2 separate regions of the Homo sapiens genome follow, and region 1 is linked to region 2. Evidence: promoter capture Hi-C in human tissues and cell types (Jung and others, 2019). All regions are on one chromosome and are shown on one strand. Each heading gives the region's core, a stretch centred on a gene start or on the middle of the fragment in contact. The rest is flanking DNA. Distances are from core to core; before and after follow the strand shown.

Region 1 (5,179 bases), core at 1,302-3,801, 650 kb before region 2:
AGATGTAGAACTGCTTCTTGCCTCCCTTCCTCCCTCCCTCCCTTCCTTCTTCCCCTTTCTTCCTCTCTTCCTTCTTCCCTTTCTTCCTCCCATCCTTCCTTCCCTTTCTTTTATTTCATATAAAGATGAAGTCTCGAAATCCTGAGCTCAAGCAATCCTCCTGCCTTGGCCTCCCAAAGTGCTGGGATTATAGGTGTGAGCCACCACGCCCAGCCCAACCTCTTTAAGATCCTTCCTTCCTCTCTTCCTTTCCTTCCTTCCTTCCTTCTTTCCTTCCTTCCTCTCTCTTTTTCTTTATTTCTTCTTCCTCTTCTTCTTCTTCTTCTTTTTTTTTTTTTTAAGAGATGAGGTCTTGCTATGTTGCCCAGGCTGTTCTCGAACTCCTGGGCTCAAGTGATCCTCCCACCTTGGCCTCCCACAGTGCTGGGATCACAGGCGTGAGCCACTGCACCAAGGCCTGCATCTTCTTCTTGAAGACTGTGTCTTCAAAGCCAGCTGGAGAGCTCTCTCTGAGGTGTCACCATCTTTAAAAAGGCTCACCTGATTAGGTCAGGCCTACCCAGGATCATCTCACTTTCTATTAACTTAAAGTCAACTGATTATAACATTCCATATTTGCTGGTCCCACCCAGACTAAGGAAGAAGAGATCATACAGGCCATGCATAGTCAGGGTAGGAATCCTGGAGGCTATTTTAGAATTATCAGTATGACAAAAATTATTTTCACTAATAACCATGTAATAATCAGTAATAATTATTTTTAAACAACTTGTTCTTTCATTTTGAAACAAATAAACACAAAGAAAATGTCAACTTTAAACATACTGTTCAAATTCAGTAAAATGTTTTGTGTATAAACAAATGTTGTATTTACCAGACAAAAGCATTCATACTTAACATCATGGTTATCCATTTTAAACACAAAACAAACCTCCATAGAGTGGTGCCATAGAATGACAGAATTGAAGAAACTCAAATTCTGTTTTTTTTCATACTCAATAGACTATAATTTTTTATTTTGAATAAAATAAAATAAAAATAATAAAAAATGAACTAAATAAATAAAATACCCTTTAAATGCAGGAATGTGTAGTACTGTATGATTTGGGGACACAAACTGCACTTGAAGCCAGCTGGAATGATTCTTTTTTTTTTTTTTGAGATGGAGTCTCCCTCCGTCACCTAGGCTGGAGTGCAGTGGTGCGATCTCCGCTCAATGCAACCTCCGCCTCCCAGGTTCAAGCGATTCTCCTGCCTCACCCTCCCTGAGTAGCTGGGACTACAGGTGTAGTCTGTAGTCTGTAGACCATGCCTGGCTAATTTTTTTGGTATTTTTAGTAGAGATGGGGTTTCACCATGTTGGCCAGGCTGGTCTCGAACTCTTGACTTCAGGTGATCCACTCACCTCAGCCTCCCATAGTGCTCAGATTACAGGCGTGAGCCACCATGCCCGGCCCAGCTTGAATGATTCTCAACTGTTAGGAACTTACCCTACAAATACACAGGTGGGAAACAAGCAAGGTGCCCTTCAATAAGTAAATGGTAAATTGTGGTACATCCATGCAATGGAGTGTTATTCAGTGAGCAAAAGAGATAAGATACACTGTCAAACTATGAAAAGATACTGACGAACCTCAGATGCATGGTACTAAGGGGAAAAGCCCATCTGAAAAGGCCGTATGCTGTGTGGTTCCAACTACAGTGCATGACATTCTGGAAAAGGCAAAGCTATGGAGACAGCAAAAAGATCAGTGGTTGCCAGGAGCTGGGGGAGGGAGGGATGAATAGGTGGATGGCAGACGATTTTTAAGACAGTGAAACTATTCTGTGTGATACTATAATGACGAGTAATATCATTACATGGTCAAAACCCATAGAATGTACAAAGCTTTTGCTGGTCATTAGTGAACTCTAATGTAAACTATGGATTTTCATTAACAACAGTGTATCAGTATTGGTTCACCAATTGTAACAAATGTACCACTGTAGTGTAAGATGTTAATATTAAGGGAAACTACCCGCACTCAATTTTTCTATAAATCTAAAACTGCTCTAAAAATGAAGTTTACTAATTAAAAATATATCACAAGCATAGCTAAGTCAGCGTGTGTCTAAGGCTGCCCGAATAACCGAGAGCTTTCTAAATTAACTGTCATGTAGAATATGATGCTTATGAAAGAATAAATCACGAAAGTGTGCTAATTGGAAGTTAACTTGTATGAAAGCCCAGCAGTATAACCACGTCACTTGTTTAGAACTTAGACCAATGAAGGATTTTTTAGGGAAGGGTATTTTATCACTGATATACCTTAAAGGAATTGCTTGGTGAGAATAGCATGTAGATGGCCCCTTGGTTTGTTTTACTGATGTTTCCAATTGTCTACCAGCACACTCCCATATTGCCTGCACCTGGGAGGGCCCACTCCCAGCGCCCTGCTCTCAGCGCCCCCTGCCAGCAATCCAGGTGTTCTTTCCATACTCAGTGCGTCCCTGGATGCTGCATCCCATCTCACAGGACCTTGTTAATGGGCAGAAGAGAACTGTTTCTTTTCTCATGTCCCTTTTTAACTTTTTATTTTTAATAGGCTTAATTTTTTTAGAGCAGTTTTCGGTTCACAGCAACATTGAGAGGAAGGTAGAGAGATTCCCCATATACCCGCTGCCCTCCCAACATGCACAGCCTCCCCCATTATCCATACCGCTCACCAGAGTGGTACGTGTGTTACAACTGATGAGCTTACATGGGCACACCATCATCTCCCAAAGTCCATGGTTTTCATTACGGTTTGCTCTTGGTGTTGTACATTCTATGGGTTTGGATAAATGTCTAATGACACGCATCCACCATTATAGTATCATACAGAATAGTTTCATTGTCTTAAAAATCCTCTGTGCTCCACCTATTCACCCCTCTCTCTCCACTAACCCCTGACAACACTGATCTTTTTACTGTCTTCACCATTTTTCCTTTTCCAGAATGTCATATAGTACATAGCCTTTTCAGACTGGCTTATTTTACTTAGTAATACACATTTAAGCTTCCTCTATGTCTTTTCATGACTTGGTAGCTCGTTTTTTTTTTCTTGTTGAATAACAAGATTGCATTGATTGGCCACAGTTTACCTATCCTCTGTGTCTTTTTTTAAGAGCAAGAAAGCATTTCCTAGAAGTCTCCCCAGCTGACTTCCTGTCATGTCTCATCGGACAGAATCAAGTCACATGCTCCTTCCTAAGCCAGTTGCTGGCAAGGGGAAAGACGTTACCATGAGTGACCAAGTATCAGTCCTGGGACAAGGAGAGTCCAGCCTTCTCTGAAGTTCTGACAACCTAATACATGAAAAAAATTCTTGCAAGGGCTATTTAGTGAGGATGGAGTCAGGAAATGGCTGTTGGGTGGGTAACCAATAATGTTTGCTTCGGCAACCACATTTTTTTTTTTTTTGAGACAGGATCTTATTCTGTTGCCCAGGCTGGAGTGCAGTGGTGTGATGTAGCTCACTGCAACCTTGAACTCCTGGGCTCAAGTGATCCCCCTACCTCAGCCTCCCAAATAGCTGGGACTACAGGCACACACCATCATGCCCAGATAATTTATTTATTTACTTTTGTGGAGACGGGGGTCTCATTGTGTTGTCCAGGCTGGTCTTAAACTCCTGGCCTCAAGCGATCCTCCTGCCTTGGCATCCCAAAGTGCTATGCTCAGCCTACATCTTTTTTAAAGATAAAATTTAATTTTTCTGCTTATAAAATGCATTTTAGAAAATCTGAAAACTACATAAAGTAAAATAAAACTCACCAATAATCTCAACTTCTGGTGATTATTATTGTTAGCACTGTGCAGTATCCATCTCTTTCTTGATTTTTTTCTCTATTTACTTGCAGTGACACATAGAATGAGATATTAAGTCAGGACTCTTTCTCTTCCAGTATTGACTGAGGCACGAAGACAAAGGTGCCACATGCAGAAGGAGCTGTGGGCAGCACACTGTGGTTGAGAACTGGGGAGATGGCAAAACGGGGTCAGGATCTGGAGATTTGGGAGAAATTTGAGAGAATTTCTTTGTAGAAGGCTATGCTGTGAGTCCCAACCCCTTAGTGCCAACCTGTGAGGGAGGGAGGTTACCCCTCCCCTCAAGCCTGATAAGATGGGCTACAAGGAAACCCCTTGGAGGAGCCTAGGGTGTGTCTCTTGGAGTTTGGGAGGCTCAAGGATCATGACATGAACCCAAGGAGTCTAATGGGAAGGGCTTTGGCTTTCAGCCTGAAAAGGTGTAGCAAAGACAGCAAGTGAAAAAAAACCTGTGTTGGGAGCCAGCTCCTCTTCTATGGATGGTGAAGCAAAGGAGGTGTGCATGTTCTCTGTGGACCAGATGAGGCCATGAGTGAGGGAGATGCAGTCTAGAGCTGCTTTAGTTTCATTCCACTGGAACCACCTGGAAGGGTGGTGGGATTCCAACTGAGGGTCAGGGTGACTGGGCCACAGGAAATCAGACACTCTGGGGAGAAACAGTTAAGTGCACTTGAAACCTTCAGAGGCTCTTAGGATCTCTCTTAGATCTGAATTCTGTTCTCCCAGGCTTCCTCAGACCCCTCCCATAGGTACCTCTTTGCACCTTTCCCATCTGGTTTCCTATCCCGGTCCTTGCATATACTCCTCTCTACTGCCCAAGGTAACAGAGTACCAACCCCCATGCCCCTTCCTGTGTCTTACAAAACTCTGCCATCTCAGGCTTCAGCCAGAGGCTAATGAGGTCTTCCTCTGCCCAGACTTTTGCAGGTTGAAAATTAGGAGAGGGATTTGACAAAGAAGGAAAAGTTTAGGCTTTCTCTACCAGGGCTGTGACCAGTGTTCTACTTACTTAAGGAAAAAAACACCTCACTATCATCAAGGAACCCATAGGATAGAGTAAGGAATGCTCTGCTGCATGTTTTTTCTTCTCTCCTGAGACTTCTCTTAAAAGTGTGCTAAGTCTTCTAACTCTGTCTTCTAGGTCTCTTATAATTGCATCTATATTTTTCATTCTTAATCTCTCTGTGCTGCATTCTAGATAATTTCTTAAGACCTAATTTCTAGTTCACTAATTCTCTTTTCAGCTGTATATAAACTGCTGTTAACCCTATTCTTTGAGATCCTAACTTTTTTTTTTTCAGAGCTAGAATTTCTATTTGGTTCTTTTTC
Region 2 (5,298 bases), core at 1,546-4,045:
GCTGCTCTCCCTGTTCATGGTGAGAACAGAGGCTGCCTAAAGCCCCTGTACCTAGTAGGCTGCAGCTTCTAGGGCCACAGCCACCAGTGTCTTCAGCCCTCCCAAATCTCCTTCCCCACCCCCCCGCCACACACACACACACCACACACTCTGTGCTTGATTATGTAAGAAATGTCTTAACTATTCACCCACTGGAAGATCTTTAATACAGCTTCCCACACTGTGTGCCATGGCCCTCTGCGTGCGGCAAACCCTCGATCTTCTAAAACTTGGGGCAGCCTGACCAGGCTGGTGAGGACAGTGCTCCAGGCTGGCTGCTGCAGCTAAGAGGCCTCAGGCAGTGGTTTCAAATCCTCTTATGTGCCTCAGGGTGTCACGCAGATATAATCATGTGGTATGTGCGCTAAGCCATGACAATGATTAGGAAGCTCTGCTGTAACTCTCACACAAGTGGATTTCCAGTTTTCTTGGGAGGATCACAGCATCTCCAGGTCTTGTGTTCCGTCATCCCCATGTCCAGCTTAGTGGTCCTTACTGAATTCCTCCCAAACTAACTTGGTGCAACTGGTCCCAAGGTATTTATGGCAAATGCCAGGAGACATAACAGCACAGTGAAGAAGGAATGCAGCCTATTCCCACAGAATTACTCAATGCCAAGGCAGACACTGAGAGTGCAACAGGTGTGAAAAGGAGGTTGCTGGGAGAGGCGGGTGGACCTGAAGAGGCTGCTCTGGGACTCCCAGGTACATGTGACAAAGCTGACCAGAGTGTATGGGTTAGGGAGCAGTGGGCTATGGAATGGAGGCTGTGGTTGTGAGCGGAGAAGTGACCGGCTGGCTGGAGATGGGCAGGTCAAGGTCATGAAGGCGGTCATCTAGGTGCGGGTGTCAGGTAATGAGTGCTCACCCCTTGGTGGGGGCTGGGAGGAGCTTTAAAGATGCAGCAGGCTGTGATGACCTGCCTGGATTCGAGGGGTGAAGGAGAGATGAGGCATCAGGATGGGGGTGGCCTCAGGATGCAGGGCTGGGGAGGGGATGAGCAGGTGTGCAGAGCCCAGTAGCACTCAGTCCACTGCCTACCTCATTCCATCTGCCTCCCAAAGCCCCAGGGTGGATGCTGCCTGCCTCCCTGTCCTCCCCAGGTGGGGCAAGATCATCTACCTTGGCAAGCACAGTGGAGCATCCAGACGGCCAGAGGTTCAGAAAGGGCTGCAGCAGACCGACTCGGTGACTGGCTCATGGGAGAGCAGCACAGCATCCCTGGTCCTGCAAATGCTTAAAACAGAGAGAATATGAGGGCAGGCAGATGCCCTGGTCTTGACTGCTGCCCGTTGAGAAAGGACAAGCTGGAGAAGGGCTGCGTGGTCCCTGGTCTCTCCAGGCCCTGAGGCAGTCTGCTAAGAACATATCTGGGATCCTGCCCCTCACCTCCCATAATGGAGAATAGGAACCCGGCCAGCACAGCCCTTTGCACAGAGCAGGTGCCCACTTTTGTTCCTTCCTCCTTTGTTCCCATGAAGTGCTCTCACTTCTGCGGGTCACTCAGAGCTCCCCAAGCAGCCCCAGGGAGCTTGCTAGGAGTGACTGACGGGAGACAGCATAGCACATCCCAGGTGGTGAGGATGCAGTCCCGGTGAAGGGAGTGGGGATCCTGGGATGATACGATGAATGGAAGGAAACTAACAGGAAAGGCATCTGGGACCAGGTTCTAGTTTTGGCTTTGCCAAGTCCCATAAACCTCTCTGAGCCTCAAACTCCTGCGGAGAAACAGAGCAACATCCCCTACTCTACCTCCCTACAGGGTTAGATCATGGGAGTGACCAGGCAAGCTGCAAAGTAACCTTAGCAAACTGCGTTCTTACATAGGTGTGGGGATCATTATTCCTATTTCCCAGCTTCCCTTCTTCAAATAACAGGATTAATCAATCTGGTTCCGGAATCATTCATATTTGAATAGAGGGCAGGAACAACAGAAAACTTAATTAGGAAGTCAAGCACTGTGAGCCAGTAAGAGGCAAGTGACTACCCGCCACAGAGACTGCTGTTACGAGTTCGGCCTTTAGCAGCCGAACCCTGAGACGGGCTCCATCACCCACATGATTGGCCCGAATGCCATATTCCCGAAACAGGGGGATGCTTCCCAAAGGCTGCTGGGAAGAGAACCTCGCCGGTGTCACACTGAGACTTCCGCTTCACCTCGCTATCTTGCCCTAGAAAGGGAACTCGGAGGGGACTCACTGACGAAAGGAGCTCCAGATGGCGGGGGGCCAACCTGGGGCGACCCCCAGCGCCCACTTTCACCATCTGGACCCCAGCAAACCTCCCTGTGGCCCTTGGTCCCGTCTTCAGCAGCTCCTTCTGGGGTCCCACACCTTCGGAGCCCGGCCCTGCCCCTGAGTCTCTGGAGAGAGCGAGTCAGCAGTTCGCCGCCGCGGGGCTCCCGTTTGCCTAGCACGCCAGTTTCTGTCCAGTTTCACCCCAAATCCCCACCTCCCCCCACCCCCGAACCTCACGGCCACCCTGGGAAGGAGGCTTGACTTGTGACATCCACCCCTCTTCACGGCTGAGGAACTTTGGCCCCGAGCGAGGAAGCGACCGGCCCACGGCCACACGCCCGGAGTGGGTGAGGCTAGGAGTGGGCCCGCTCCGGGACCCCTAGGGACCCTACCTCACTTCCGGGAGGGTTGAAGGGGGGCTCCGGAGGGAGGATCGCCGCCCCCAGAGGGGACAGCCCGGAGGCCCACGTACCGGATCGCGGCGCGCACAGCGCCCCGCCTGCAGGAGCCCGGGCGCGCTTCCGGGTAGGACCGCGTGATCGCGCACGTGACCGCCCGCCCCGGGAGGGGCCGGAGCCGCCGTCGCCTTCCGCGGGTTCGAGCCCCGCCCCTGCCAGGCCTTGCCCATGCCCCATTTTACAGAAGAGGAAACGGAGGCGCAGAGAGAAGAAATAACTTGCTGAGGGTCCGAACCAGGCTCAGAACCCAGGTTTCCTGGCTCCTCAGCTGATCCCTTCTCTCCTCCCCATGCCCCGGAACCTCAGGCTTTGCCTAATGAACTGAAGTTCTGGGGCTAGAGCTGTCCTTTTGTGACTGCTCTCCCTGACCTTTGGGGAGGTGACATAGCGCACAGAAGGGCTCAGTTGCCCCCAGAGTGCCAACGCTGGAATTTATAGGAGTTCTCAATCTATTTTGGGAGTGGAGTGCACATTAGGAGTTTTGTGTTGAACCTATGTTTGCAATATTTATTTTAAAAAATCGTATGTGTATTGGGGGTGCCTGGAAGTGGAGGGGGCGCTCTGGAAGGGCCTAAATCCCCGAACAGTCCACCCCTCAGTGCCTGGGTGCCACCTGGGAGCTTTGAGCCCAGCCCAGCAAGGTATGGGTTGCAAGAACTGGCTGGGGATATAGTAGATTGAGCATCTCTTGGGGGAAAGGCAGAGGCTAAGAATCAATACTTCCACCACCTGCAGATCAAAGAGAGCATCACTCCCCCCAACCCACTACCCACCCCTTCCAGCCCACCTTAGGGCAAATTCTTCCAACTCCCCATCTACAGCACATAGCCCTGCCACACGCATCTCTTTGCTCAGCCCACCGTTGAGATCGTTCACTCACTATGCTTTCAGTGGTCGAATGAATTCCATCAAATGGATATGCTGTTATTTACTTATTCATTCCCCTACTGGTAATTTCCATTTCCCAACTGCAATGTATGAGGATTCTGATTTCTCCACATCCTCACCAATGCTTGTTATTGTTGATTTTTTTTTTTTTAAGTATAGTAACCCAGCGTGGAGTGGTGTCTTGTGATTTTATTTGCACTTCCCTGACGTTCGGCATCTTTTCATGTGCTTTTTGCCTATTTGTGTACCTTCTCTGGAGAAATGTCTATTCAAATCCTTTATCCATTTTTAAATTGTCTTTATTATTGAGTTGTAAGAGTTCTTTATATGCTCTGGTTACAAGCCCCTTATCAGATACTTGATTTGCAAAAGTTTTTTTCCCATTATGTGGCTTGTCTTTTCACTTTCTTAGTGGTATCATTTGTAGCACCAAAGTTTTACATTTTTATGTAATCCAATATAATCTATTTTTTAGTTATGTACGGGTTTTTTGTGTCAACATGTTTCTTTTTTTCAAATTTGTTTGTGGTAAAATACATATAATGTAAAATTGATCATTAAGCATTTTAAGTGTATTGTTCAGTGGTATTAACTACATTCCTAATGCTATGCAGCCATCACCACCATCCATCTCCACAGCTCTTTTCATCTTTTAAAACTGAAACTATATCCATTAAGCAATAATGCTGGCCGGGTGTGGTGGCTCACACCTGTAATCCCAACACTTTGGGAGGTCAAGGCGGGCGGATCACAAAGTCAGGAGTTTGAGGTCACCCTAGCCAACATGGTGAAACCCTGTCTCTACTAAAAATACAAAATTAGCAGGGTGTGGTGGCACACAGCTGTAGTCCCAGTGACTCAGGAGGCTGAGTCAGGAGAATTGCTGGTACCAAGGAGGCAGAGGTTGCAGTGAGCCAAGATCATGCCACTGCACTCCAGCCTGGGCAACGGAGCGAGACTCCCATCTCAAAAACAACAACAAAAACAACAACAACAACAATTCTTCATTCCTCCTCATAGCAACCACAATGTTACTTTCTGTCTCTATGAATTTGACTACTCTAAGTACCTCATATAAGTAGAATCATACAGTATTTGTCTTTTTATGACTGGCTTATTTCACTTAGCATAATATTCTCAAGGTGCATTCATGTTGTAGCATATGTGAGAATTCCTTCCTTTTTTCTTTATTTTTAAGCCTAAATAATACTCTATAGTCTGTATATACTACATTTTGCTTATCCATTTATCTGCTGATGGACAATTGGGTTACATCCATTGTGAATAAGGCCATTATGAACATGAGTGTACAAATATCTCTTTGAGACTCTGCTTTCAATTCTTTTGGGCATATACCCAGAAGAGAAACTGCTAGATCATATGGTAATTCTATTTTTAATTTTTTAAGGAACTACCATACTGTTTTCCACAGCAGCTGCATCATTTTACATTCCCAACCTGGAACAAGTGTTCCAGTTTACCCACATCTTTGTCAACACTTGCTATTTTCTATTTTCTTTAAAATTTTTATAGTAGCCATCCTAATGGGTGTGAGGTAGTTCAACATAAGTTTATATTTCTCTTAGGTAAATATCTACTCATGGGATTGCTGGGCTGTATGGTAAGTCTGTGTTTAAATTTATATTAAACTGCTGAACCATTTTCCAAAGTGGATGT

What was found. Contacts are between HindIII fragments. The study calls those that stand out against the background at their distance.
Region 1: a contact is called between a fragment that was not itself captured here and the fragment with the promoter of HPS1 in region 2, in 1 of the 25 tissues and cell types used here (bladder).

Annotation. Positions count from the first base shown.
Region 1 is chr10:97,793,644-97,798,822 of GRCh38, forward strand. No RefSeq gene overlaps it. Among named protein-coding and RNA genes, the nearest start is that of SFRP5, 24 kb to the left of the region's middle. The HindIII fragment of the contact is 5,525 bases long and covers 1-5,179 here.
Region 2 is chr10:98,444,140-98,449,437 of GRCh38, forward strand. It overlaps HPS1 (HPS1 biogenesis of lysosomal organelles complex 3 subunit 1), which reads right to left and starts at 2,796. Exons shown (of 20, transcript NM_000195.5): 1 at 2,668-2,796; 2 at 1,161-1,265. HPS1-AS1 (HPS1 antisense RNA 1) reads left to right here and starts at 2,182. Exons shown (of 3, transcript NR_134454.1): 1 at 2,182-2,618. RefSeq lists a silencer at 2,614-2,963. The HindIII fragment of the contact is 14,922 bases long and covers 1-5,298 here.